Linked DNA regions of Homo sapiens: regions 2, 3, 4, 5, 6 and 7 are each linked to region 1. The links are contacts of gene promoters, found by promoter capture Hi-C in blood cells and fetal thymus (Javierre and others, 2016). All regions are on one chromosome and are shown on one strand. The core of a region is centred on a gene start or on the middle of the fragment in contact, and the rest is flanking DNA. Distances in the headings are between cores, read along the strand shown.

Region 1 (4,080 bases), core at 1,530-4,029:
GAAAACTTCAGGGGGAAAATGGTCTTGCCACCTTAAAACGATTTAATTATTCTTAATTTATTATTTAATAAAATTGTTATATTTTTAAATATTTTCAAAAGCTTTCACGTAAACTCTTAATGTCAGTACCTCTTTTGTCTCCTCTTGGGTATACTGGAGTCATTCCTAGGAATCAAGTCAGATCCTGTAGGTTCTACATTTTGAAGCTCTTTTACAAGTACTGGCTGGCATTGACTCAAAAGGCAGCTATCTGATGACACAATTTCCTGAAGATCAGCAGTGAGGAGAAAACATCATGTCTGGGTTCTAATCTTTCTTTAGTGATAACACTAGATGCTCCTTCATTCATTCAACAAACATTAATTGAGCACCTATTATGTACCAGACATTGTGCTAGGTGCTAGGGCTACAGCTATGAATTAGATAGATAAGGTCCCTGCTCTCACAGGACTTATAGTCTCATGTGGGTGTGTATATGTAAGTATGTAGACACTGTGTAGAAGAAGAAAGGGAAAACCATGAGAAAGTAGAGTCTCTTAAAAATTAGCTTCCTCCTCTGAAAAAAATAGGATAATAAAGGCATCTACTTATAAGGTTGTTGTGAGAAGTGTGCAAATATATTATTTAAAATGCTAACGGAAACTTCAAACCATCAGAACACAGTAAATACCTTCAATGCTCTGGGGGCCCACAAGATTCATGGCCTGGTGAGCTGGATATTCCACTCGGGGCCTGGCAATGCCCAATTGCTCCATAACACCATGAAGCAGCCTCTGGATATCTGCTTCTGAGACCCGGTCAGGGGTCCGGGGGCTGTAAGCAAATGCTGGAGTCCATCCAGATGCCAGCCAAAACAGTAGGCCAGATAGCATGGTAGAGACCATCCTGGAGACCATTGTCAACCTGCAGATAAAAGACCAAATGTATACTGATAGGCTACAATCGGCAATTGTGATAATACAATTATAATGATGCAACCACTCCAGGTTGTGGTTCGAGGACCACCCAGAAAGGGGTTGTAACAAAGAATCCTTAGGAGGTTGCTTTTGTCTTAAGTTTCCATGCTAGGCAGAGCATCATTGCAGAAAGGTATTAAACAAAACAGTTGCAGGTATCCAATTCCCTCTGTTTGCATTCTTGAGAAAGCTAGGCTGGAATGGCGGTTCTCACTCATAATTTTTATCCTCCTTGTAGCTCCCTGAAAGTTCTGCATTACTCCTAACTTCATCACTCTCTCCCTCTCTTACTAAAACAAATAAACCAAACTTGCTTACATTTTGAGAAAGAGATAGTGGCATCTTGGGTTTTCCCAGTCTCTGGGAATAAAAGTCTAACAGGAGGGAGTCAGGAAGACACAAATCAAGAAGCTCAGGAAGGTTGGGAGTGGTGGCAGGGAAACATTTCAGTTTAGCAAACATCCAATACGTTTGCGATCCTGAAAGGAAGGAAAATGTTCCTTAGATCCAGCCCTGCAATCTGCTGGGGTAGTTTGAGGTTTGTTTGCTCAGCCACATGCTGAGTGATCGTAGGCAAGTCCCTCAGTTTCCTCCTCTGCAAAACGGAGATAATTAAAGCATTTACCTTTTAGGGTTGTTGTGAGGGTGTGTGCAAATACATGTTAAGAGTGTTTAGGACAATGCCAGGCACAGAATGAGCCCCTATATTGCTATTATTATGTTGCTAACATTGCCTTAACAGTTCTGGAGGTTAGAATATGGGGAGGCAGTGGTGGTGAGAGGGAGTTAACTAGCCTGGGGGTGGGAGGGTCAACCTGTCCAAAATGTTGGTTTCTATGGGTATGTCTGCAAAACAAGTGAACATTATCCTTGCAGCTTACCCCACAGCTGCTTAACGTGTTTGGATGCATGCTTCAGGCAGCGGCCTTGCAAACCCTTTTTTTTTTTTTTTTTTTTTTTTTTTGAGACGGAGTTTCACTCTTGTTGCCCAGGCTGGAGTGCAGTGGCGCCATCTCGACTCACTGCAACCTCCACCTCCCAGGTTCAAGTGATTCTCCTGCCTCAGCCTCCCGAGTAGCTGGAATTACAGGCGCCCACAACCAAACCCGGCTAATTTTTGTATTTTTAATAGAGGCAGGGTTTCACCATATTGGTCAGGCTGGTCTCGAACTCCTGACCTCAGGTGATCCACCCCCTCCCCTCAGCCTCCCAAAGCGCTAGGATTACAGGCGTGAGCCACCAGGACCGGCGCAAACCCTCCTTCTAATCATTCTTCTACTGAGGATGGGGGATGGAGAGGTGGGAGGAGGCAAAATCGTGCATTTCCTTTACTGAAACAAAAATTTTTATACCCTCCAATTTCTTTTTCTGCAAAGAAAAGGCCTTTTCTAGCCACTAGATATAAAACCTTGCTCTCCAAAGAGCTGAGAGTAGCTGTTTAACAGCAAAATCTGCAATTCTGATGGAAAAGGCTGGAGGCAGACACGAGGCTCTCCATCTCCATCTTTCCCTTGTCCACTCTGAATGCAGGATGTCATCCCAGCAAACGCCGCTCTGATTTGATGAACTACACAATCTCCTCCCTCAGTACTCCCTTCCCCTTACTGATAGCCAAACATTCTAATCCCCTACGCATCCTTCGTCTGACCCCAGCCTCCACCTCAAGGATTTTAGCAGGACGCCCTCCCACAACTGGCAATACCAAATCTCGGGTTGGCGGCAGGCGGCCGAGCCGACATCAAAACTGTACTCACCGAGGGGCAGCCCGAGGAGCCTACTGCGGTATGGGCCTTGGTGGGGGTCAGGCCAGGAACGGGCGAACTGGAGAGCTAGTGCGTCACCCTCCTCCGCATCTTAGCTCCGCCCCGGCCCCTCCTCCAGCAGGTGGAAGCTGCCTCGCCAGGACTCCCCAGACTGCATCCCAGATAAGTGTGCCTCTCACCAGGAGCCGCACAGCTCTTCAACCCCCACATTCTGCATACAAACCTCTTGACTATGACATTTCCTAGAGACCCTCTTCAGCTCCATCGACCTCCATGTAAGTCATTCACCTCCTCAGTCTCAATTACAACGTGCCAGATCACCACTACAGCACACCTTTAATTTTGTCAACTTCTAGAATATGTTTTTTGTTTTTGTGTCTAAAGCCTTTCAGCTTCAAGAGGGAAGAGGCAATGAATGGTAGAGAGACAAAAGATGAAGTCCTAAGAACTTTTAATGGTGGCTATGATAAGGTATACCCTGCTCTGAGGGGCCTCTTACTAATCAGGAAAACTATGGGGATATTTAATACAAGAAGCCAGAAACTTCCATTAAAGTGATAAACTTGAAAATCTGTAGAAATATCAGCTCTGAGTGTTATTTCTAAACGTCCACACAAACCATCAAGTAAAATTCCACTTTGGCCTGAAGAGAAACCATACTCCCAGCATACTGTAGAAGTATGTCCAGGTAGTCCCAGATTCTTAAATAAGGGTTTATGGAGCACCTACTATGTGCAATCTTGAACACTGAAATTTGTTCAAATACTAAAATCAAAATGTAAAGCCATACAATAAATATGGCACTACAAATTTGATCAAGATGGAGGATGAGTAAAGAACCTGGGGGTCTCAAAACAAGTAACCTGATGAGGTTAGAATCCAGATCTATTTATCTTAGCTCTAGAGAGCAAATCCATTATCATCTACAGCAATTTTTATGCAATAAATAGAGGCTGGCAAAATTCATTTATGAGACACATGGCCTTTCATTTTGAAGCCAAGCCTCTTTCCCAGTACTTTTTCTTTCACGGATGCTCATCTGCTTCTTGCTTCTTGTTTCAATGCATGCTAAATCAACAGGACAAACACTATCCATTAAATGGCTCTAGGCTCACTGGCCATGCTGGAGTTAGTATTTATTATTGATGCACAGAGACTTTTTTCAATTCTGAGTTTTACTTTAGCTTTGTTCATTGTTATCTTCATTTTGTGGTTGAAAAAAATGAAGTCACTACAATTTACTGCTTTTGTGTTAAATTTAACTGAAATAGATCAAAATGCCTATGCTTCATTTGAAATTTGGTGTTTCAAAAATAAAACTTCATATATATTTAAGAGATCACAGAGGTTAGGTGCAGTGG
Region 2 (3,662 bases), core at 206-2,705, 480 kb before region 1:
ACCCCAGTTTTGATTTGGAAAGATTAAGCAGCAGAGTGGACAGAAATAAGTTAGAAAAAGGAAGGCCAGTTGGTGATCCCCAGTTGATGGGGACTTGAATTGGGCCTGGAAATAAGTGGATGGATGTGAAAACATTGCGCAAATAGATCCACAAGGCTTGACGATATGACGTTGAAAGAAAGGCATTCTAGATGATTCTACAATTTGGGCTTTAGTTATAAGGATGTGGAGATGCTGTAAACCTATTTAGTTGTGTGAACATGGTCAGATTACTTAACCTCTCTCGGCCTGTCTTTTTATTTGTGACATTAATTACCTAGCAGGATATTGTTAGGCCATGTATATATAAAGCATTTAGCTCACTGCCTGGCACATAGTACATGCTGCATAGATGTTGGTTTGCTTTATCAAGATTGGATAGCCTATACTATGTCAATCTCTTTCTATTCCTATATATAAGAAATATTCCAGTTCCCTCTTCTTTCAGATTATGTAACAGAATAATGGCAGCAATCTGTTGCCGTGGTCAATCTTTGTTGACACACATCATTAGCTTTTTGAAGGAGCAAACCTGGAGTAGGATAGGCCAGCATGTGCCAATTTAGTGTTCCTAGATTTGACACAAACTCCAAGTTTTCTCTCTCACATTGTACCTGTCACTAGTGGCCATTAGATTTTATTACTGCTGCATTAGCTAGTGGTACTGTTTAGAAGGTGATGTCAGAATATTGGCCTGGTTGTTTATCCTGTTGCATTTTAAATACTTGGGACATCTAGAAGGTATACATGAAATGTACTGTGGGCTGAGCAGTAAAAGGATGAGCCAATGTGTACTGTCTAAAGCCAATACTAATTTTATAAAACCTACTCTGACCTACCTTACTTTCCCACCAGGCATGTACTTTTTGGGAGAAAATTGTTTAATACATGCCTGGGTTAAAAAATTTTCTTCTTTTAAAGCACAATTACATGGTTACTTGAATTTGCGGAACACAACAACGTTTTACGGAGTAGAAACACAAAATTGGAATATGACAAGAATAAATAAGACTTAGCTTATTCACTTTTTTTGGTGACTATAGGTCAGAGTTTTCAATCTTTTAGGTTTCACCTAAGAACATTGCACTTAATTCCGTGGACAAGGGATAATTTGTTTCACTGTGTAGTTAACTGTAAAAGTTCCCAGGCCCTTTCCTGCACTTCCAGAGTAGTATTCTTTATTTGTCTGTTCTTTGTCTATTGGCCTGACTGTATTGTGCTCCTTGAAAGTAGAGATCGTGTCCTCTTCATATTGTTTGCTTGCAGTACACTTTTGGTAAATGAATAAATGAATTAATTGGTAACACAATGAGAGAGACCTAATTAAGTTCTAGATTTTTCTTATTGTGGCTCTAAGTCTACTGCTTTCTTTTTGTTTTCAAATTCCTAAAATTCAAACAAACAGAAAAACAAAAATTTGGCCGGGTGTGGTGGCTCACGCCTATAATCCTAGCACTTTGGGAGGCTGAGGCAGGCGGATCACTTGAGGGGTCAGGAGATTGAGACCATCCTGGCCAACATGGTGAAATCTTGTCTCTACTAAACATACAAAAAGAAGCTGGGCATGGTGGCTGACACCTGTAATCCCAGCTACTCAGGAGGCTGAGGCACGAGAATCAGTTGAACCCGGGAGGTGGAGGTTGCAGTGAGCCAAGATTGCGCCACTGCACTCTACCCTGGCGACAGAGCAAGACTATCTAAAAAACAAAACAAACAAAACAAAACCAACTTGTCAACTATGTACTTTACTGGGAAATGGTGTAATAGACAAATGATTTCTACCTTTGTATCATATAGAACTACATGTAATACTGGAAATGAGGGAATGAGTTTCTCCCTTTGTGCTCTCAATTTATAGACAGTCCAGAACATTGTAAACAATATTGACACTGGCATTGAATGTGACCCTGAATCCGCCATGTGGTCTGAGGGAGCAGAGGTACAAAGTAATTGGTCATTGTGGTATTGAAACTCAGAATCAGGCATATGATGAAGTTTTATTTGCAGAATACTTTTTGTTTCAAGACACAGGACCCACTGCTCTATTGATAAAAGGCAAGAGTTTAATTTTTTGTTGTTGTTGATCTAAGTCCTTGGAGAAAGTAGACTGTAAATCATAGATGGGGTATTGTATACTCTTGTTACAACATCATCTAGCCAACCTTTCATCTGTCCCATGTGGAAGGTTCTCCAGTTTACATTTTTGGGTTATATGAATGAAGGCAGAGTACTATCCTATAATTAAGACTAAAACCTCTATCAAGAAGCAATGGGAGGAAAAGAGGTGAATTTACTTTGCATCCAAGATGATGGGCTTACTGTACTATAAGTAGTTCAGTGTATAGTGCAACAGGTATATTTTCAGAAGAAAGAGTCCTGGAGAGCTTGTAAAAAAATGGAAAGTAGATTCAAAAGAAATACTTTTAAAAATACATAAACATGCAAGAATGTTCATAGGATTAAAAAAACCAAATGTGCAGTAAAAGGGTAATAGGTAGAATAAATTTTTCCATATCTTATATATATGTCTGTAAAATGGGTATGTAGTCACTTAAAAGAATGATGTAGATATATATGAACTGACACACCAATGATCCAGGAATACCAGAACACGAAAAGACAACAAAAGCTGCCGAACAGTATCTTGGTATCACTACGTGTGTGTTCGTATATCCCCACATAAAAAAATAGTAATCTCTGGGGTTGGCGACATGAGGTTTTCTCATTTTTTGGATTATACAATTCCTTGTTGCTGGAATGTCCACCAATAAACATGCACTAGATGGCTAACTTTGAACATGTCTTCCCTGCCGGTGTGTAGGAAAAGTGCAGTAGCTAACCACTCTGTAAACACTATGGGCACAACTGGTAACCTAATCCATTGACCTGGAAGATGATGATGGCCCTTGGAAAGGGTCAGCAAGGAGAATAAAGTGACTGGAGTTAGCACATCTGCTATCTTTAGCAGGGTGTGCCAAGTTTTGTAAACAAATTATTTTGTAATTGCCTTATGTTTAATGTTCTTCAAAGCCGTAGAGCAAAAGAACAGATTATTTCTGAGAAGTGAAAAACAATTTTCATTTCACTATGCTGCTCTCCATTGGTCACTTGGGTATGTCCTTGGAAATAGATGTCAGAGTCCTGAATCAAACTGTGCCTTTAACTAACATTGTAACCTCAAATTGAGTCATTTAATTGCTAATCTCTTAGTTTCCCCACCTGTTAAAATTGATAATAATAATCCTTACCATCGCATTCCTGAATGAGGTGTTGTGACGCTTAATAAGATCATGTTTGCAAAACGCTTTGAGCTCTTTAGATAGAAGACACAATATAAACACAAAGTCTCATTAAGATAATTATACAGTGATTTTTCATAGTTTACATGCAAGGCTAAACCTAGTGATGGGGAGGTCATTTTATGAGAGCAAAGAAGAAGACTGGCTTTCAAAATCTGAAAATGAAATTCCTAACACATTTTAAAGACGAATATAGTACAAACAGTTTTTAGAATATGAGAGCTTAGTTTTGAGAGATGATTCAAAAAAATGAAAAAATTTTTGGAAGTTTTGTGTTTAACTGAAAACATCTTTTGTAAAACAGAGTGATCACTTCTATCCCTT
Region 3 (3,656 bases), core at 672-3,171, 500 kb before region 1:
GAGGGAAGCACCAAAATCGGTAGAGTCAGTGAAATACCGATTTTTTAGCTTGTTATTACTCCCCTGATTGCAGTTGCTGGAAGGAATTATGTCAAATTTCATAGCGGTTTTTTGAGAATCAAATGAAATAATATCAATGAAAATAGTTCATAAAGCACTTTTTAAAATTAGCTTTATTATAATTACACATCATTGCTGGTTCATAGGGGCAGAAAGGATTTTAAAATCCCACTCCTTTTGGTATTTTCCAATGATGAAATGATGCTACAAAGAATAGCTCACAATGAGTTGTTTATTCGATGTGGATTTGCTGATTTGTTCTTGATTAAAGCTGCTACATTTGCTGCTTGTTTTTTAAGGCACTTACTTATATAGCATCTTTATCGATATTTTATTGTTTTGTGTAGGTTAATATTGGATTTCTCTTTTTTTTTTTTTTTTTTTCAGACGGAGTCTAGCTCTGTCGCCCAGGCTGGAGTGCAGTGGCGCAATCTCGGCTCACTGCAAGTTCCGCCTCCCGGGTTCATGCCATTCTCCTGCCTCAGCCTCCCGAGTAGCCTGGGACTACAGGCACCTGCCACCACGCCCGGCTAATTTTTTGTATTTTTACTGGAGATGGGGGTTTCACCGTGTTAGCCAGGATGGTCTTGATCTCCTGACCTCATGATCCGCCCACCTCGGCCTCCCAAAGTGCTGGGATTACAGGAGTGAGCCACCATGCCCGGCCTAATATTGGATTTCTACCTAATTTGCATTAATAAAAAAACTTGAGGGCAGAGATCGTATAGGATACCTCTGAGGTACTCCCCACAGTGTCTAGCTTCAAACTGGCTCACTCGGTAGCCTTTGAATTAAATCAGGGTTTTAAAATTTTCTAAATTAAATCAAGTCAGAAAGGAATTGGAATGGTATGTCTGACTACTAATGTCATTTCAGTGTGAAATCTTAAAGGATGAAAGAGCAAAAGAAAAGAAAAACAAAGGTCCCCTTTCTTCCTCCCAATCATTTCTGAATCACGTGAAGTCACATTTTCTCTCTTCAAAGTGTTCTCAATTTCTGCATCTAATAGTAATTTTGTCCCTACTGATTTCCATATCATATTTCTATCAAGGCGATAGGTTTTGGACCTCAAGACATATTATCTGCCTCTCATCTGTATTTTTATAATATTAACTCAGCGATTCTTCTGTGATAAAGAACTTAATCTTTAGCTCTTATCAAGCTTTTGAATGTAGGACCTTATCTTTTACTTTGGATGCATGCTTTGCAGTTTCATAAACAGTAAATTAATAGGTACTGATTCTTTTAAGAAAATTATGATTGTTGACTTTAATTAAAAACAACCTTCCAACTTACAGTGATAAGGCAGTGGCTGCAAGCGACAAATTGTCCTTAGGAGTAATCAGACAGGATGATTGGGAATTCCTGCAGCTGACATGCCACCCAGCAGAGTAAAATGGGTTTGCCTTGCTTTGTTCTTGGTGTCCCATCTTCATTTGGAACCTGTTTCTGCTAGTGATAGAACACTTCAAAATGGAAACAGATGTCTCTTTATTTTTGGTTTTTAAAAAAATCTCTCCTCAAAGATAGCAATGGTATCACATTCATCATTGTATACCTGGGTCAGTTACTGAAACTGACCAATGACATATACTCAGTAAGTGTTCTATTGAATGAATGAATAAATGGATGGATTAATGATGAGATAACTTAGTCTGAAAACTGGTAACAGGGACACATTTTTCACATTTTTCCTATGTTAAACAATGAAACTGGTTTCATGTCATATCATGTGATTATTATCAATGTTAGATGCTGTTACCCTATTTTGCTAGAAAATGCTTTTTTTATTTTTAACTAACCTTGAAACTATTCATCTCTGCATGGGTTTGGGAATCTAAATGTACTCAGAGATGTGAGTAGAATTAAATGGAACTTGGGTACTCAAAGTCAAACCTTTGGGGAACAAAGAAACTGATCTTTTAAATGGAATAACTTTACAACATATGATTGGCTTTACCAGAACAGACAGCTTTACATTTTTAAATGAGATTTAACTTCATTGTAAAATCCAGTTACTGAGGGGCAGTCAAGTGATCAAACTTGAAACAGAAACCAGAGGCGGTTTAATGTTTCATGTACTTCACTGGTCACAGATTAACCATGTTGCATTATCCATGATCAAAGGACAGCACGTCTGAACCAAGGTACATTTTATAGCCCAACACATTGGTGAACTAGAAGGCCAGGCAGGGACCTGTAACTCTTGTAGGCTGTGATTCAGGGAGTTCTGCAAGGCTCACCAGCTGGGTGCCTAATGCCCACCATGGAAGTTTCCCTTCTGTGTAAGCACTGTTGCTAGAAAACTTGTGTATAATGCAAATGTAAGTTGAGGTCATGTGATTGGTTTCCAAAAGCTATGTACAAAACTCACTGTAAGTCATTATATTAATATGCTGAAAAAATTCCTGCTATTAATATTACCTAGCAGAGCAAGATCTTTACAGATGGGTTATGGGATGGGTTTCTGAGAGTGGAAGTAGAAGTCAGGGTATCATTGGCATGCCACAAGCCTCATCGCTGCTCTCTGCCCTCATGGGATTTTCTTTTTAAAAGCTTTTTGGCATCCTGTATCAAATTTAGAGAAAAATTGAAACAGCGAGAGGTGTTAGGTGACAGAATCACAGCTTGTTAAATTTTCCTAAGTTAAATGGAACAAGATTAAACTCAAGAGGATAATGGAAAAATCCTGCATTGAGATTAAACTATCCACTTACAGGTAAAGGACATCAGGGACCTCAGTTTCTGTTTTAGCTGACAGCATATTGATTTTGAGCCAGTTGGGTAATGTATAGCTGTTGAGAACAAAAAGTCAGGCTACATTAGAAATAGATATTCATATCAAGGGAGAAAATGTGCTTCTGTACTTTATAGAGTCTGATGAATCTGGAGTTGTTGGTATAGTTATAGGTACATATTTGAAGGGCATTATTGACAGATTAGATTACGTGTTGGTGACCAGAATGGAAACATATCTGAAAATTATTTCATGGGGAAAAGAGTTATACTAAACAGCGTAGCCCATGTATCACAATGTCAAAGTGATACATGAGCAAGTTGGTATAGTGTATGCTGTGTGCGCCACCCAGATCCCCCTTGCAAGACTAACACCCTGTTCTCTCCGCTGCTGGGAGCATTGCCAGCCAAAGGCTTACAGCTGAGTGCCTCCCCAGGAACTGCCCTCTCCAAATGGGAGCTACCTCTGCCATTTTGAGGTTCCATCTGAAGTGTCATTTGCAGAGGGCAGTTCCTGGGGAGGTACTCAGCTGCAAGGGGGGAGGTACTCCCAAGATTACACCTTCTTCTCAAGCGCAGGCCTGACCAATGACTTATCTGTGTGTGAGAGTACGGAAGCTCAGCACCATTGCCTTTTGTAGGGCAGTTCTGAAGGGCCATCCCAGTCTCCATGCTCCCTACATTATCACCTGAGGCCTCTGTCAAAATTGCATCTTCTCCAATCCTGCTTCCCTCACTTTCCCATAGGTATTGCTCCAAAGAGCACTCTCCACTAAACCTTCTGCATGGAATCTCTTTTCAGGGTCTATTTTCCAGGGGATCCTACCCGTGATGGGTGACGTTATGTTACCCATAACAGC
Region 4 (4,102 bases), core at 1,381-3,880, 430 kb before region 1:
AAAATGGCTGGTGCTCTGCTATGGAGGACCCAGGCTTGCTCATTGTCTCAGAAGAGTCCTTCCCCAAAGAAGGGAAAATGTCAGTGCTAAGGCACCTAGTCTCATTTTCAGCATGCTTTTTCTCATGAGAAAAGGATGGAAGAAACCCCAAATTCATGGATTTTTTTTTTCTCTCAAATAACTGAGTTGGTTTAAAAATCATGTTGGAGCTTGGGAAACAAAATAAAGAACAGGGCAAACTTTGTCACCTTATGCAGTGGCCACTTGAGAAAACTTTATTCTCTTCTCAAGTGACACAGATGGAAGAATCCAATCCAGAAAACACTGGCCCTGCAACACCCAAAGGGATCCCTTGGAAGAATTTTCTTTGGAGCTCAGTTTCCTTGTGGCATGGTTGCGGCTGGGGCATGCGGAGGTGTGTTGTATGTAGTCCTTCTGCCCAAGTGCATATATCAGAGGGAGTTGGGAGAAGAAAACTTCCTGCTTGGGCTGTTAGTTCATCAGTAAATACTTGTTTTATAATGAGAATGCTAAAAACATCTGTTAGATGATGGTTGGTGTCCCTAAGGAAGCTGTTCCTTTCCTGGGAAAACATATCCTACTTACTGCAGGTTATTAATGAGGGCCAAACACATAATAGTGTATGCCGCGTAACAATTCATGAAGTGTAGGTACTGTTCTTACCAGTTTCCAGGTGAGGGAGCTGCAGCACAGGGAGCTTATATATAACTTGCCCCAGGGTAAGTCTCTTGTAGGAGTGGAGCATGGTGTGAGCCCAGGACTCAAGGTCTGTTCTTTTTTTTTTTTTTTTTTTTTTTTTTTGAGATGGAATCTTGCTCAGTTGCCCAGGCTGGAGTGCAGTAGTGCCATCTCGGCTCACTGCAACCTCCACCTCCCAGGTTCAAGCGATTCTCCTGCCTCAGCCTCCCGAGTAGCTGGGACTACAGGCGCACACCACCACCACGCCTGGCTAATTTTTTTGAATTTTTAGTAGAGACGGAGTTCCACCATCTTGACCAGGCTGGTCTTGAACTCTTGGCCTCAAGTGATCCGCCTGCCTCAGCCTCCCAAAGTGCTAGGATTACAGGCGTGAGCCACTGCACCCGGCTGAGGTCCTGTTCTTAACTATGCACACTGCCCGTGTTCCTTGGTCATCACAAGATTACATACCCACTGCTGTCTTCCTTTGTTCAAGCTTCACAAGATGTCCCAGCCTTTCTCCTTTCCTTTTAGATTCTTCTAGTTTGTTATCTATATTCAATCCATTTCTACAGAAGCTTTGATACTGCCCAGTGGAACCAGTCTTATAAATATTTTACTCTTAAGACTTTTCAACAGAGAAAAAAGCCCTTAATCACAGTCCTTGCAAGAGGCAGGTGCTGCCTGTTTTCTTTTTAACCAATTAGTGAAAACAGCTGCAGGCTTTTGATGGGATGACCCAGAGAGGCTGTTGTAAGCGTTGCATTGGCAGAGGAACGCCACAGCATGAAGGCAGGGAAAGTGCTACAAAACTAGATGTGTAAGGGTATCTCTGGCTTTTTCTTTTGTTTGGCTTTATATTCCTGTGAATTAGGTAGAAGCAAGGTGTTGTCTCCATTTCAAAGATGTGGAAAATGAGTATAACGAAGATGCTGATCAGGAAGAAGGTAAGATCCCACAGCATAGCAGCAGGGTGATGTGATGTGGGTGAACAGGAGATGGGATGCCTTTTTCCCCATCTGGGTGCTGCACTTGAGCAGTATGAACTGGTGCCAGTTGTTCCGCTTCCCTTGACCTCAAATGCCTTCATCTTTAAAACAAAAGGTCAAGCCAGGCCGGAGGCAGTGGCTCATGCCTGTAGCCCCAGTACACTGGGGGGCCGAGGTGGGCAGATTACTTGAAGCCAGGAGTTTGAGACCAGCCTGGGTAACATGGTGAAACCCCGTCTCTAGAAAAAATACAAAAATTAGTCGGTCGTGGTGACACGCAACTATAATCCCAGGTGCTCAGGAGGCTGAGGTGGGAGAATCATTTGAGCAAGGGGAGGTGAAGGCTGCCTGAGCAGTGATTGTGCCACTGTACTTCAGCCTGGGTAACGCAGTGAGACCCTGTCTCAAAAAAAAAAAAAAAACAAGCTAGGTAAATTTCTACTATTTCTAAGGTCCCATTCAACCTTACAACAACTGGATTCTACCCAAATTATTCCATAATCTTGTACTCCTTTTATATGACCCCTCATTTTACAGACATTTTTTTGACTCCTTATGATGTTATAATTTCCTCAGCTCTCCCCTCTTGTTCAAGATGCCGTTTGTTGAATTAAAACACGCTTCCTGAACCAAGAAACCAGGATTTCACCCATTAACCTACCCATATCTTTATTCAGAACTTACTTATTTTTCCCAGTACATTGCTCTTAACTTTTTTTCACCTGCAGAAATAGTTTCCTCACTCTTATTTACCCTTACTAAGTTTAACTACACTTTCTACTTTTTGTTTCAAACGGTTTTCGCATGAAGCTATTTGAACTACTTTGGGAAGCTAGAAGCAATTTGTCATTAAAATCAGGCCCAGAACTTGAAATAAGTTGGACAAGGAGAATCATGACAAGTAGCCTAACAGTGAGATGCGATCCTGTTTGCTTTACTTTCACGTTGCCTTTCTGAAGTCTGATGAGAATGTGGGGGTGAATTATCCAAACTGAGTAATAGCGAGAAGTGCTACAAAGAGTAAGGGGGCCCTTAGAGAAGTTTCTTTCAGTGTCCAGTTTTCGCAAAACGATATTTAAAAATTTTTATTGCTGATCTCCTAATATTAGGAAAGTCAAGGAGCTAGGCTCTACTGCCTATAGGAGATAATGTGCCTTTTATTGCAATTGTTCTTATCTCACTAGGTATACACTTACTAGACTGATGTTCTGTTTTTGTTTTTTTTTTTTTTTGAGATGGAGTCTTGTTCTGTTGCCCAGGCTGGAGTGCAGGGGGTGCATCTCGGCTCACTGCAGCCTCCACCTCATGGGTTCAAGTGATTCTCCTCCCTCAGCCTCCCAAGTAGATGGGATTACAGGTGCCCACCACCATGCCTGGCTAATTTTTATATTTTTAGTAGAGACAGGATTTCGCCATGTTGGCCAGGCTAGTCTTGAACTCCTGACCTCAGGTAATCCACCTGCCTTGGCTTCCCAAAGTGCTGGGATTACAGGCGTGAGCTACTGTGCCCAGCCTAGACTGATGTTCTTTTTGCCATGGGGTACAATTGGCTCCACCTTCAATCTGTGTACAGCTGAGAGGACAGTGAGATGGGAGAAATGAAGAATTCACTGCTAGTAAATTCTCCACAAATACTATGCTCACATTTTTAAGTAGCTAGGTACTGATTGTTTTTAACAGAGTTATAACAGAATATCACGTAGGTCAAATGCTACCTATTTCTCATGTATCCTTTGACTTAGAGTTGTCCCTCCATCTACTTGGAAGATTGATCACCCATATACCCAAATCCTCTCATACCCAAGTCCCACAGGAGGCTCTGGGAATCCACTTACAGGAAAAGTTGAAAAGTCAACCCTTCATATGTGCAGGTTTCACATCTCATGAAGACTGCATTTTCCATCTTCTTTTGGTTGAAAACATATTGTATAGGTGAACCCATACAGTTCAAACGTGGGTTGTCTGAGGTGGATCATTTTTAATCTGGCACAGATTATTTTTTGTAGATTTTTCCCCAAGTTACTCAAAAGAAAAGAATGGTCATCCTCAGTATAAGGTTGTTTTTTTGTTTGTTTGTTTGTTTTGGTGAAGATCATTTTTGCACAGATGTGGCAGTTAGAGAGTTTGTCTTGAGGTTAAGACAAGACAAAAGAGAATCAGTTGAGGTAGGTTGTAAAGGATGAAAGCCTTCGCTTCTGCTGGTTTTGTGTAATAGGTGCTTATTTCAGCACATAGATACTGAGATAATGTCCAAGAGAAGTGATTACTATCCTCCCTGAAAATGTTAAAGCTTTAAAGAGATTCATTTTTCAAGACCAATTTAGATTGAATTTGTAGGTTGCTTATTTGAATATTACAATCTGAAACACTCTCATTCCCTGAGTGACCAGCAGTGGTAACATTTTTTATGGTCA
Region 5 (3,719 bases), core at 586-3,085, 390 kb before region 1:
ATTATTTAAGTGTATTTCTTCAAATCAGCTTCAATTTGCAGATAGATATTACTTCTGACAATGTCATTTCTTAGGTGAAACATTCTTACTTGTCACAGAAACCAGGAAGTTGTGTTCTTTTTGTGGTGGCAAATTTATCTGTTTTCTATTTTATTATTTTCAAACTAGTGAAAATGACTTGTTGTTTGGACTAGCGTCGGATCAATAGGAGGGAGGGAGCATTTGAAGAAACTTAAGAAGTATTTTGTTTCTGTATTAGAGTTAATCAAGAGTTTGCCTTGAGCCTCAGACTGGGGCATCTGGGGAAGAAGAATGTGTTTTCTGACCAGGTTCTACCCCAGAGATTGGATAGGGCACGTGGCCAGCAGCCCCTTGAGGTTTGCTACCAGATGAAACCGAACATTTCTATGAAATGAGCTGATATCCTTCACATGCTGCCCAGATGGTGCATTTCAAAAATGATCTCACAGATTATCTTGAGTTTTGCCAGTAAAGTGGGATTTCCAAAAGTATCTTGCCTTTTTAAAAATTTTTATTTATTTATTTATTTTTATTTTTATTTTTATTTTTTCCTCTGTAGTTCTTTATATGTTTTTTCCAGCATTTGAGCATTATTTCCAGTTGCTAGAATTTCAGGGCAACTTGTGTAGGGTAAGGAAGAACCCAGTTCCTTTATATTAGCTCTTGGCTCACTGCAAAGTTCACTTTTGTGGCCTTATCAACTTGGATAGCAGAGAGCTTGGAGTGAGAGTCAAATGTAGGAGCTTACTTTTTATAATCTATATACACGTGTCACTTTCTGGCCTTCCCCAGGTGTCACTGTTTGGGGATAACTTACAAATGCAGTTCTTGACTTTGGATGTCTATCAGAGTCACCTGGAAAGCTTTTAAAAATTCCAGCTCCTAACACGCATCTCATGCCAATTAAGTCTATGTCTAGGGCTGGAATCCAGACATAAGTAAATTTTAAACCTCCCCAGGTGATTGTAATATGTAGTCAATGTTTAAAGCCACTGGAATAAACGCTTTATGGGGGTAGGGATTAAATAGGCTGGCTCATGGAGAAATTTTGACTTGCCCAAGTGAGCTGGTTGCTTCTCCAGTTCATCTTTTCTCATTTTGATGCTAGTAACACTGTAGCGGGATCACAGGTGGTGAGATGTGGATGACTGATTTTCAGAAGCCTGTTAGTACAACCTTTGAGCAGCAACTGTATTTTGGCTGTGAATCAGTGTGTGCTTTTCTTCATATGCTCTTGTCTGTCATATTTCTAACCCTCTACAAGAAGGGACAACAGGTGCTGTGTATGTATATTCGTGTGTGTGTGTTGTCTCCATTTCATTTGTTCTTTTATTGTTTATCCCGTTCACTTTGAACACTAGATCGTTTCTCACTGTATCAGTTATGAGAAAGTCGGTTATCAGGAAAGATCAGATTACTTGGGGGAAAAACAAAGCTAAAACTACTACCATAAAGCAACAACAAAACCCCAGAAGATTTGAAAAGGGCACGTTAAACTGAAATGTCTAAAACTAGTGTTTCTGGCTGTCCGTGATTCTAGTTGGCTCTGTTTCCACCTGTGTGCAAATGTAGTCCCCAATTTCTTTAAATTCCTGGCCCATTGCATACAGTTCTCACTAAGAATACTTAAGAGTTCCTAGAGTTGCCAGATAAAACACAAGATGTGAACTGAGTGAATGAGTAATTACTTAGTATATTTCAAATATTGAATGGGACACACTTATACTAAAAAATTATCTGTTATTATTCTGAAGTTTACATTTAACTGAGCACCCTGTACTTTTATTTTCTAAATTAAAATAGAAAATAGGTATAGCTCATATCTCCTGGCACCCTGTGGAGGTATGGGCTAGGCTTCTGGACTAGAAGACCAGAGTGCTGTCCGTATTTTCTGGCCTGTGTACTCTTGATGTGAGCTTACCTCTTCCCATATTTCTATAGGAAGCTGTTTCTTAGTTTTCTATTCCAAACTTTTGCATTAAAAAAAAAATATGTCTGTTAGGCTTTCTTGTCTTTAGTGTTAGGATTGAGAGATGCAGATTTAAAAACAGCACCCCCACACTCCACACAAATTCAGATCTTAAATTTTGAATGGTAGGAGCAATGCAAAATAGGACCTTATTCTTAGAGGCAGTAAGCCCAGTGACAGCTGCAATATGTTACATATTTTGGAGTACTTTTCCACCACGTGGGAAATGCAAGTGTCCTGTCTCCCTTAGAAACCTGGGCAGGTAGCCTGGCCTCCTGGGTACTTGTCTGGCCTGGTTTACTAGAAAATTCCACTCTCTGTCGAGTTAAATCTGGCTGACTTTCACCTGCCTCTTAAGAGACTGACCTTCACCTCTCTCTCCTGAGGTTCATTTTGTCAGCTTTAAATAAAAGGCTCTGTCAGTTACTGAGTCAAAGCACAAGCTAAGGACAGAGATTCTTCTACCATTTTCAGTCAAGTCAACCAATGCTTATATATGCATTATATAATCATGATATAAAATCATATATGTATTATATGAGGAATATGCTTTTTCTTACAAGTACTTTATATATTGTTTGAGTGTACATTCTGTTTGAGGTAGGCAATTTTTTCCTCACTGATTATAAGGCTAAACCTAGTCTTATAAACAGAAGTGTGTGTGTGTGTGTGTGTGTGTGTGTGAAAATTTGGACGTATCCTCTAATGTTTATAAAGAAGGATCCTGAATAATTTCAAACAAATAGAATAAAGTAGAGTTAGTATTTATATATTAACCATCTATACTTAAGCTTTTTATCATATTTTCTTTAGATTTTTAAAACCAGTGTTGAGGCCCCTTTTGTTACCTCCCTTTATTCAATTTCTCTGCCTCTTTCCCCAGAGATGATTAACTCTCCCAGCATTCATGTGTGGCTACCACCATGCAGAACTCTGTGGGTTGCTGTTTACAATCAACCTCTGTGTGTGTGTGTGTGTGTGTGTGTGTGTGTGTGTGTATGCCTAAGCAATATATAGCATGGGTTTTTTAAACCCCATTCAGATGCTGTCACAGTGTAAGTTTTGAGAGCCATATCATTGTAAACATTACCAGTTTTATCTCTTCTTTTCCAATTCTTACATCTCTTTTCTTAGCACATTATCTCACGCCTCTAGTTTAATGTAGGAAAATGTGGGTAATGGTGTGCATTTTAAATCGTGCCTCCTGAAGTTTTCCCGTTACTTTCAAAGTTTGTTGAAAGTTCTTGAAAGATATTCTGAATCTGATTCTCTTCTATTCTAACTTAGCTAAGAAGATTTTTTTCTTTTTAAAATCAAAGAATGATGTGGAGCCTTATCTGTGTCATTCTGTATCATTTTGAGATTTTGAGATACAATAGGTTTTCTCCATTAGTATGTTAATGTGAGATACCACTGATAAATTTTCAGATAATATATAGTTCCTACATTCTTAGAACAAACGCCGCATAATTGCTTTGTTGGTTGGTTGGGTTTCACAAATTGCTGAAATAGATTTGTTAATTTTAGGTTTTTAAAGTTTCTTTTAATTGTTTTTAGCTTATCATTTTATTGTGGATTTTAATTTAATTGCATTATAGAAAGCATTACTTTTGCATGGCCTGTGTGACAGTATTTGAAGAATTTTTGAAAGGTTTTCTTTGTGAATCATCAATTTTTTGCAAATATGTCAGTGATATATTTTGAAAATATATGTTCCTGAAAAAGATAC
Region 6 (3,965 bases), core at 1,301-3,800, 410 kb before region 1:
AGAGAATAGATTATAGATGTTTATCAGACTTAAGGTCTATATTGATATTAATGCTGCAGGGGTATAATGAGGCATTGTCCAATCCCCACTTCCCATCATGGCCTGAACTAGTTGTTCAGGTTAAATTTTTGAGTGCTGTGGCTGAGGAGAGAGTCCATTCAGATGGTTGCAGGGGTTGGAGGGCTTCAAATTTTATTTTTGGTTTACAACTATAACTCTGTAATCAGTTATGATACCCTGCTAGAATGTGTCCTTGTTCCTTGGTTACTCTCAGCTCTTTGTATTTCCATGTAAGATACAAGTAGCTAGAACTGATCTATGAATAATTAGGCAATATAGAGTTTTAAATAACTGAGACATAAAAGCTTTCACCAAAAACTGTTGGAAAGAATTTCAGCCTGCATTTTCCGGAAGCTGTGATTGGCTTTATGTCTGCCTCATGGTGGGATCCCTCATTTCTTCAACTCCTTTTTGATGTTTGCAAAGTGTTTAGTTTTCTTTCTCTCTACCTAATCTATTGCGACCATTTCATGTAGAAGAGGAGGGAAAGGGTAATTGGGTTTGATAAACAGATTGCTCTTGCTTCTCAGTATGAAATAGTATAGATGGATGCAACATTGTTAAGATCATGCCTTTCTTTTCTTACAGGAACCAGTTTTTACATCCTGAAAGTTTTTTTGCGGAAGGGCACCTTTACTTGATCCAAACCCATGTAAAAATGAAATGATGCCATAGTCATAGTTGAGGACTTAATAAATATAAGAATATTTAGATGAAAAAAATCTAACCTTTTAATTTACAGGATTGTAGAAATACTCTTAAAGAACATCTTGGTGAGATGGTGGAGTGTAAGCAGAAATGTATATTTAGTTGTACAGTAGGAAATATATTTTTGGTCTTTGTCTCTATTTCCAGGCACAGATCTCCTAAAACCCTTTGAATTTCCTGAGAAATAGGAGTAATATGTGGATTTTTTATTATTCAATGAGCCCATTTCAACTGTACTTGAGTTTATGCAAATGAGATGACTCCTGGTAAGGCCCCTAGAAAGTTTCAGGATGGGGGTTGGACACCGGAAGGTTCACATCTTCGTTAGAGGGTTGGATTTTTTAGCACCTCCTCAACTCTCAGGGAGAGGAGAGGCACTGGAGATTGAGTTCATTCACCAGTGTCCAGTGATTTACTTACTCAATCATGCCTACGTAGTGAAATCTACATTAAAAACTCCGAAAGAAAGAAAAGAAAAGGAAAAAAGAAAACAAAGAAAGGAAAGAACGCTAAACCATAGCATCTGGAGAGTTTCTGAGTTAACGAACACATCCTCACGTTGGAAAAGTAGCATGCCTCAGCTCCACAGGGGCAGAGACTCCCTTTACTGGAGACCCTTCTGGACTTCACCTATACCTCTCCATTTGGCAGCTCATTTGTATTCTTTATAATACATTATAACAATACAGACAGCATTTTTTTTTTAGGTCTGTGAGTCTTTTCCAGGAAATTATCAAACTTGAGATGGGGAGTATTGTGGGAACACCGAAGTTTGTAGCCAAGTTAGTCAGATGTATGGATATTCTGAGGACCCAGTACTTGCTATTGGCCTCCAAAATGAGGGCAGTCTTGTTGAAGCAGGATTCTTCTTGGCCCCTTTCCCGAACTTGCAGCAGGGGCACCCCGTCTACTCGGCATGCTGCACTCAGCCCCTTGTGGGAGTGAGCACATGAGTGAACGAGTGCAGGGTTTGGCTGGCAGCTCCAAGTGCCAACATAGGAGCAACTTCTGTGCAGTGCCCATTGCCAGACCAGGCATGTTACCTCAAGGGGAATGTGGCAATGCCCAGGCAGGGGTGCCTGCGACCCCAAAGCCCCAGAGGGAATGTTAGTGTGCTAATTAGTTTTTTTAGTTCTGCTGTCTGCAGCCGGGTGGATGGTGGTGTGTTAGCAGCCCAGTCAGCAGTTGGCTGGCGTCCACCAGTGAGGGCAAAGGCCTAGTTCTACAGCCTTTCAGAGTACCTGCACTCAGTGGGTCCCAAGCTCTTGTCCAGCGTTCAAGAAGAATGAGGTCACACTGACGATTGAAGGGTGATGAGAGTGGAGGATTTTATTGAACAATGGAACAACTTTCAGCAGAGAAGGGACTGTGGGGAGTGGGGGATGATCCCACACCCCCACAGTCAGGTGGTTTCTCTGCCTGTGGTTGGGTCTGGGGCATTTTATGGACTCACAATGGGTAGTGCATGCTGATTGGTTTGTGAATATGCAAAAAAGGTTAAAGTAAAGACACCACTCAAAGGTGGGCATGACAGTGTAGAAAACCAATTAGAAAAGGGTAGGTGTATATAAAATAGGGGAAGGGTGGGGATCAATCAGAGGAAAACGCATCAAATGGGAAGATAAGTTCTCAGTCTGGTCCAAGGATTTAACTTACAGCTTGGCTTTCAGGCTTTAAACTGTCTTTAGCTTTGAGGTGGGGTTTCACCAGGGATCCACCCTTATCTGCCTAGGTATTTGGCTGCCTCCTGTCACTATCATTGTGGGGCTGAGCCTGTAAACCTGGAGTCTGATGCTAACTCTGGTGTCAGAATTGAATTGAATTGAATTGAATTGTAGGACACCCAGTTGACATCAGAGAATTGGTGTTGCTATTGGAGAATTGGTTGGTGTCAGAAAAAGACATCAGACAGGTGAAGTAACTGTTTTCCTTTTTGTGTATTTGTTTAAGTCTTTGATTCCATGCACGTGTATTTGCATGGTTGTGTCCATGCTGAACCCAGCATTTTTATCGAGTTCCTTTTTATCCTATCAATGTTTTCCATGTTTTTTCTGTAGTCTTCCTAGTAACCATTTTTAGTGGCTACATGCTGATGATAATTTTAATAAAATATTTTAAATCAAGTATTTTCAGACATTTCAGTTGGGAAACTAGAATCTCAAGGCTAAGACACCAGCATAGTTATGTATAGTATTCATGTGTTCTTTGAACTGGAAGGAACCTTGGAGAATATCAGGTTTAGCTCTCTCCTTATTACAGAGAAATAGATGTCCAGAAAGGTTATCACATTTGCTAATTAGTGATAGTGTTAGCATCGGCCTCAATTCTTTCCTCCTCAGAAGAAAGAATTTGACCAAGGGACATAAGGCAGCAGAGTGAGAGACGAAGGCAAGTTTTAGAGCAGGAGTGAAAGTTGATTAAAAAACTTTAGAGCTGGAACAAAAGGAAGTAAAATACACTTAGAACAGGGCCAAGTGGGTTACTTGAGAGATCAAGTGCAGTGTTTGACCTTTGACTTGGGGTTTTATATGTTGGTATGCTTCCGGGGTCTTGCGTCCTTCTCCCCGGATTCCTCCCTTGGAGTGGGCTATCAGCATGTGCAGTGGCCTGCCAGCACTTGGGAGGGGCTGCATGTACAGTGTGTTTATTGGAGTTGTACACGTGCTCACTTGAGGCATTTTTCCCTAACCAGTCAAGCGTTTCTAGAGGAAGGTCATATACCAGCTAAAAACTCTGCTGTTTTGCCTCTTCATGCCCATGCTTGAGCCCACTCACCCAACTCCTGAGATCTTACTAGGAAGCTGCTGATCACCAGTTTCAGGTGTTTATATCTATTGGGAGACTGCCTTTCTCTGGCACCAGGTGTGACCAATTATTAGAGCGGCACTGTCACAACCACCTATCACCTGATGGTTGCCCGACATCCTGGTGGTGGCAGGGGACCCTCTCCTGCCCTGCTCATGTCTGACTAGCTACCTACTGTAACAACAGAACCAGGACTAGAAAGTTGGTCTTCTGACTTCCAGTTTAGTTTTTTCTTTCCATTTTTAATGTGGCCCCCATTTCTTTCAGCCCAGCCATAATTCACCTTAACCTTTCCCAGACTGTTTTATTCAATTCTGATTAAAGAGGACACATCTGATTCTCAGGAAGGATAGAAGGAAGCAGTGTAAAAAATCCAAGGAACATACCCTGGA
Region 7 (3,755 bases), core at 103-2,602, 450 kb before region 1:
CAGTAGAGATGGGGTTTTGCCATGTTGGCCAGGCTGGTCTCAAACTCCTGACCTCTAGTGATCTGCCCACCTCAGCTTCCCAAAGTGCTGGAATTACAGGGGTGGGCCACTGCACCCGGTCATATTCTTTATAACCAAACATACTAAAATTTTTTGATCACTTAAGTATTTGAAGTACTAACATCTAATGTTTTGAGCATTTATTATCTGGGAGTAGACGGAGGCTTTTAATGTCTCAGTGAATCCTACAATCTCCTAAATTTGTTCTTTCCTTGATCTTTTCTGCATCAGGACTTACCTAGGTGCTCTATCCATTGTTAGCATCATCTGTGCCCCTGTTTTTCAAGTGTTAAAATATCCAGTGTAACTATGGCCACACATAAGTTTCCTAGTCTGAGTAATACACATCCCTCAACTAGTATTCTTCACAGGAGAAAACCGTGGAAGGAGGTTAATAAAATAATCAAAGAGATATTTATATACTTCCTTAAAATGCTATTTCATTTAAAGGCATGACTATAAATAGTTCCATTCATGGCTCTAGGCTCCTATGTTTGACTTTCTGGGAAGGAGTATCATAGGGTATCTATGAACGACCCTGAGGAGCTGTTGTTTCCAGAGATGATCAGCCACTTACTTGGAGCTGTTGCATTTGATGACGTGAATTCTATTTTTGGAACATGAACAGATTTAGGATCTGCTGCACTGCAGTGCAACTGAATTCTTATAAGCTTTATTGTTATTCTCCTTATCTTCTCTGACAAAAGAAAAATAGCCTTTCACATGACTGTGTGATGTTGGATATGCCCTCATTGTATATAGAGTTCTTTACTTAAAACAGGAAATTACTTGCTTCTCCCATCAAATCTATCTATCCCCCAGCCCAGGAAAAGTCTTCTGAAAGAAAATAATTGTGAGCCTAGTTCAATATCAGACATATTCTTATTATCTTCATTTTATTGATGAGGGAAAAAGACTCAGGGAGTTTTGGTAACTTCACCAAGGTCAAATAATTAGTAAAGGTCACAGCCAGGAATTTAGCCCACATGTTAAAGCCCTGTACCCACGCTCTTAACTTGTTCACGTCTGCTTCTCTCTTAGCCCTCAATATTCTCATCTGGAGACTGGCAATAATATCTTTCTCTAAATAGCATAAAGAACTTAGATTTTAGTTCTGCCTTTGCTGCTAGCTGGGCATGTTGGAAATACTGCAATCTTCATGGGTTTTGGTTCTCTCAACTATAAAATGAGCATGTAGGTGGGGAGATATACAAGATTCTTTCCAACTGTAAATTTGTTTTATTTTATTTGAATTTAAGCATGATTTTAGAAATGCAAACTACATTGCAGTTGCCTGATGGCTATGGATGCTTTCCTCATCAATGTTCAGACTTACAGAGCTTGCTCCCCACTCTCTGCTACTTTTTGATTTGCCATCAGCCTTTCTCTGCCTGGCCACACCTTCCGCCTGTCCATCTTTGCTCATTCATCATTTCTCTCCCCACATACTTCCCAGTGAGGAGTTAGAGGCTGGGGTGGATAGATACCACACCTTCTCAGAATTGTATCTACCTAGGTGGTTTGGTGACATTGTGTCATTTAACACTGCTGAGAATGAAAATGGGGGCAGTTGCATTAGTGAGCATTGATCTCTAATTGACAGATACCAGCCATGAGACTATACTTTTGCCACAGCTCTGTCTTCTTAGATACAGACATGAGTGATTACACACACAGCCACACATCCACTCCACAAGCACTTAGCAGTGTCACTTTCCATTAGCTGTACATCTAGATTGCTGTCTTTCTTGCTGGTAAGTACACGTTTGAATAACATAATGGAAGATATGTCTACCTGTACATATCAGTTCTGATATTCACGGCTGAGAAAACTTTACCTCTTAGGGTTTATTTTATGTAGTGCCTTGGGCACTACAACACAGGAGCTAAAACTGAGGAGAGTTTTAAGCTTAGGGTTTTTGTTTTTTCTCTCCTCTTTCTGGATGCATAACCACTTCGTCATTGCTGTCAAGTGAGGGCTTGGTATGATGGGAGAATTAGAGGAAACAGCTTAAAAGGCACTGTAATTTTGTCCCTTAGGGACTTTTGTCCAGATCTGCTGGTTATATAGTATGTTCACAGACTTCCTTTAGGAAATTGGTATATTTTTATATGTATATTCTTAGACGATTAAAGACAATATCTGGTAAATAACTTTTTAATAAAATGTAGTTTGTGCATGAATCTTGGTATGAATGAGTAAATGGGTGTGCCATGAGTTTTTCACTTGATTTTTCAGATCCTTGCAGTGCATTGAATAATTTTTTTCAGTACAAGTTACAAAACAAAAACACTGTTGTGTTTAAGCCCTCAGCTGAAAAGGTTTAATGTCTTTAATAATTACAGTGCTTCTAGTGGGAGCAGACATGATAGTGTATGAGGCAACTATTTCAACAAATAGGCCTCAAATCTCAGTGGCTTATAATAAATATGTATTGTTTTTACGTACTGGCCTGGGAGTTGGCTAAGGTTCACTCGATTGGGCCTGGGTTTGACTGAGCTTGGCTCCAGGCTTGCAGGACTGTGCCTGGGACAGATGTTCCACGTCTCATTCGAAGCTCCCGAGGACCATGTTCGTCTCATGGTGAGGGCAGAAGCACAGGGCGGGGCATGAAAACACACCGTGCGTCTTACAGCCTTAATTGGCACACTGTCACATTGTTTACATTCAGATGGCCAAAGGAAGTCACGTGGCAGGGGAAATAGACCAGAAAAGGCCGTGGGTGCGTGATCATATTGCAGGGAGGGAGTGAAACAGTGGGAACAATAATCCAATGTACCCCTGCTAGACAGACTGATTCTATTTTGGAAAGATGAGCTGTGGACACTGCCTCCTGTTTTAAATGGCATATTATTACCTTTGCATTCTGTCTGCTTCTGTTGTTTTGATAATTGACAGCAAAACCTCAGTCTGATGTTGTAGGTTAGCATCAGGAAGTGCAGCTCATCATGTGAATGGCTTTGAAAAGCACAGACTTTCAAAGTGGTTCCAAGGTAAGTCACCCTACCTTTACTGTGACTGTGCTGTACGTTGTATTAACCGTGGTCAGCTGTACAGATAACCTGTGTGTGTATGTGTGATCGATCAAACTGTTGAAATGTCTTTGAGGAACAAAATAACTAATACTGAGTACAAAACAGGTTTGTAGTATGCACATGAAAAGGAAAGACATGTTTAAACTGATAAGACTGATTCAGTTTTTCACAAAATATTCTCTAAAGATCTAACACCCCCAAATCTATTTGTGTCGGAAAATTAAATGACAGTTGACTGTTTTGACAGAATATATTTATCTAATTTCAGATGATTTTTTTCTCTTTTTATTAAATTTATTCAGCTGGAGAGACTAGCTTGGGTATTACCCATTTTAATAAATACAGACGTGCTTTATTTTTGACTGAAAAAAAGTTGTTTGTATTACTAAAACTCTCCATTCCCAAATTATTTTATAAATACATTGTGGTCGTCAGAATGTTGACTTTGTCATTTGTCCTAACCTACTTTGTCAGACTTTTGAGAATAATGGTTTTATGTTACTTATTTCAGTTTTATGTTACTTATGGTCCTTTTCTGTCCAAATGATTCTTGCCAAAATTATTATGCATCATGGTTTTACCTTGCATGTTTCCTTCATAGGGATATTGTCTGGTTAAACCTTAGGTATCAGAAATTAACTCTTTAAAACTAAAACCAT

The links. Contacts are between HindIII fragments. The CHiCAGO score rates a contact against its expected background, and 5 or more counts as called.
Region 2: a fragment that was not itself captured here is called in contact with the fragment with the promoter of SCG5 in region 1 in 1 of 17 cell types (M2 macrophages); the score reaches 5.7 in M2 macrophages.
Region 3: a fragment that was not itself captured here is called in contact with the fragment with the promoter of SCG5 in region 1 in 1 of 17 cell types (M1 macrophages); the score reaches 6.4 in M1 macrophages.
Region 4: a fragment that was not itself captured here is called in contact with the fragment with the promoter of SCG5 in region 1 in 4 of 17 cell types (M0 macrophages, M1 macrophages, M2 macrophages and 1 more); the score reaches 8.6 in M0 macrophages.
Region 5: a fragment that was not itself captured here is called in contact with the fragment with the promoter of SCG5 in region 1 in 3 of 17 cell types (M1 macrophages, M2 macrophages and M0 macrophages); the score reaches 9.2 in M1 macrophages.
Region 6: a contact is called between a fragment that was not itself captured here and the fragment with the promoter of SCG5 in region 1, in 3 of 17 cell types (M1 macrophages, M2 macrophages and M0 macrophages). The highest score is 6.4, in M1 macrophages.
Region 7: a contact is called between a fragment that was not itself captured here and the fragment with the promoter of SCG5 in region 1, in 2 of 17 cell types (M1 macrophages and M2 macrophages). The highest score is 5.6, in M1 macrophages.

Annotation. Positions count from the first base shown.
Region 1 is chr15:32,640,409-32,644,488 of GRCh38, reverse strand. SCG5 (secretogranin V) reads right to left here and starts at 2,779. Exons shown (of 6, transcript NM_001144757.3): 1 at 2,711-2,779; 2 at 671-903. The coding sequence starts at 896. ARHGAP11A-SCG5 (ARHGAP11A-SCG5 readthrough) reads right to left here. Exons shown (of 14, transcript NM_001368319.1): 10 at 671-903. RefSeq lists enhancers at 2,007-2,645, 2,646-3,286. The HindIII fragment of the contact is 7,166 bases long and covers 104-4,080 here.
Region 2 is chr15:33,119,627-33,123,288 of GRCh38, reverse strand. All of the region lies in intron 4 of FMN1 (formin 1), which reads left to right. Among named protein-coding and RNA genes, the nearest start is that of FMN1, 73 kb to the left of the region's middle. The HindIII fragment of the contact is 5,184 bases long and covers 1-3,662 here.
Region 3 is chr15:33,141,426-33,145,081 of GRCh38, reverse strand. All of the region lies in intron 4 of FMN1 (formin 1), which reads left to right. Among named protein-coding and RNA genes, the nearest start is that of FMN1, 51 kb to the left of the region's middle. The HindIII fragment of the contact is 1,394 bases long and covers 1,225-2,618 here.
Region 4 is chr15:33,071,741-33,075,842 of GRCh38, reverse strand. All of the region lies in intron 5 of FMN1 (formin 1), which reads left to right. LOC124903459 (a long non-coding RNA gene) reads right to left here. Exons shown (of 2, transcript XR_007064574.1): 2 at 1-4,102. Among named protein-coding and RNA genes, the nearest start is that of FMN1, 120 kb to the left of the region's middle. The HindIII fragment of the contact is 2,701 bases long and covers 1,280-3,980 here.
Region 5 is chr15:33,025,366-33,029,084 of GRCh38, reverse strand. The region is part of intron 6 of FMN1 (formin 1); the gene reads left to right. Among named protein-coding and RNA genes, the nearest start is that of FMN1, 170 kb to the left of the region's middle. The HindIII fragment of the contact is 1,897 bases long and covers 887-2,783 here.
Region 6 is chr15:33,051,183-33,055,147 of GRCh38, reverse strand. All of the region lies in intron 6 of FMN1 (formin 1), which reads left to right. Among named protein-coding and RNA genes, the nearest start is that of FMN1, 140 kb to the left of the region's middle. The HindIII fragment of the contact is 4,366 bases long and covers 368-3,965 here.
Region 7 is chr15:33,091,432-33,095,186 of GRCh38, reverse strand. The region is part of intron 4 of FMN1 (formin 1); the gene reads left to right. Among named protein-coding and RNA genes, the nearest start is that of FMN1, 100 kb to the left of the region's middle. The HindIII fragment of the contact is 1,238 bases long and covers 734-1,971 here.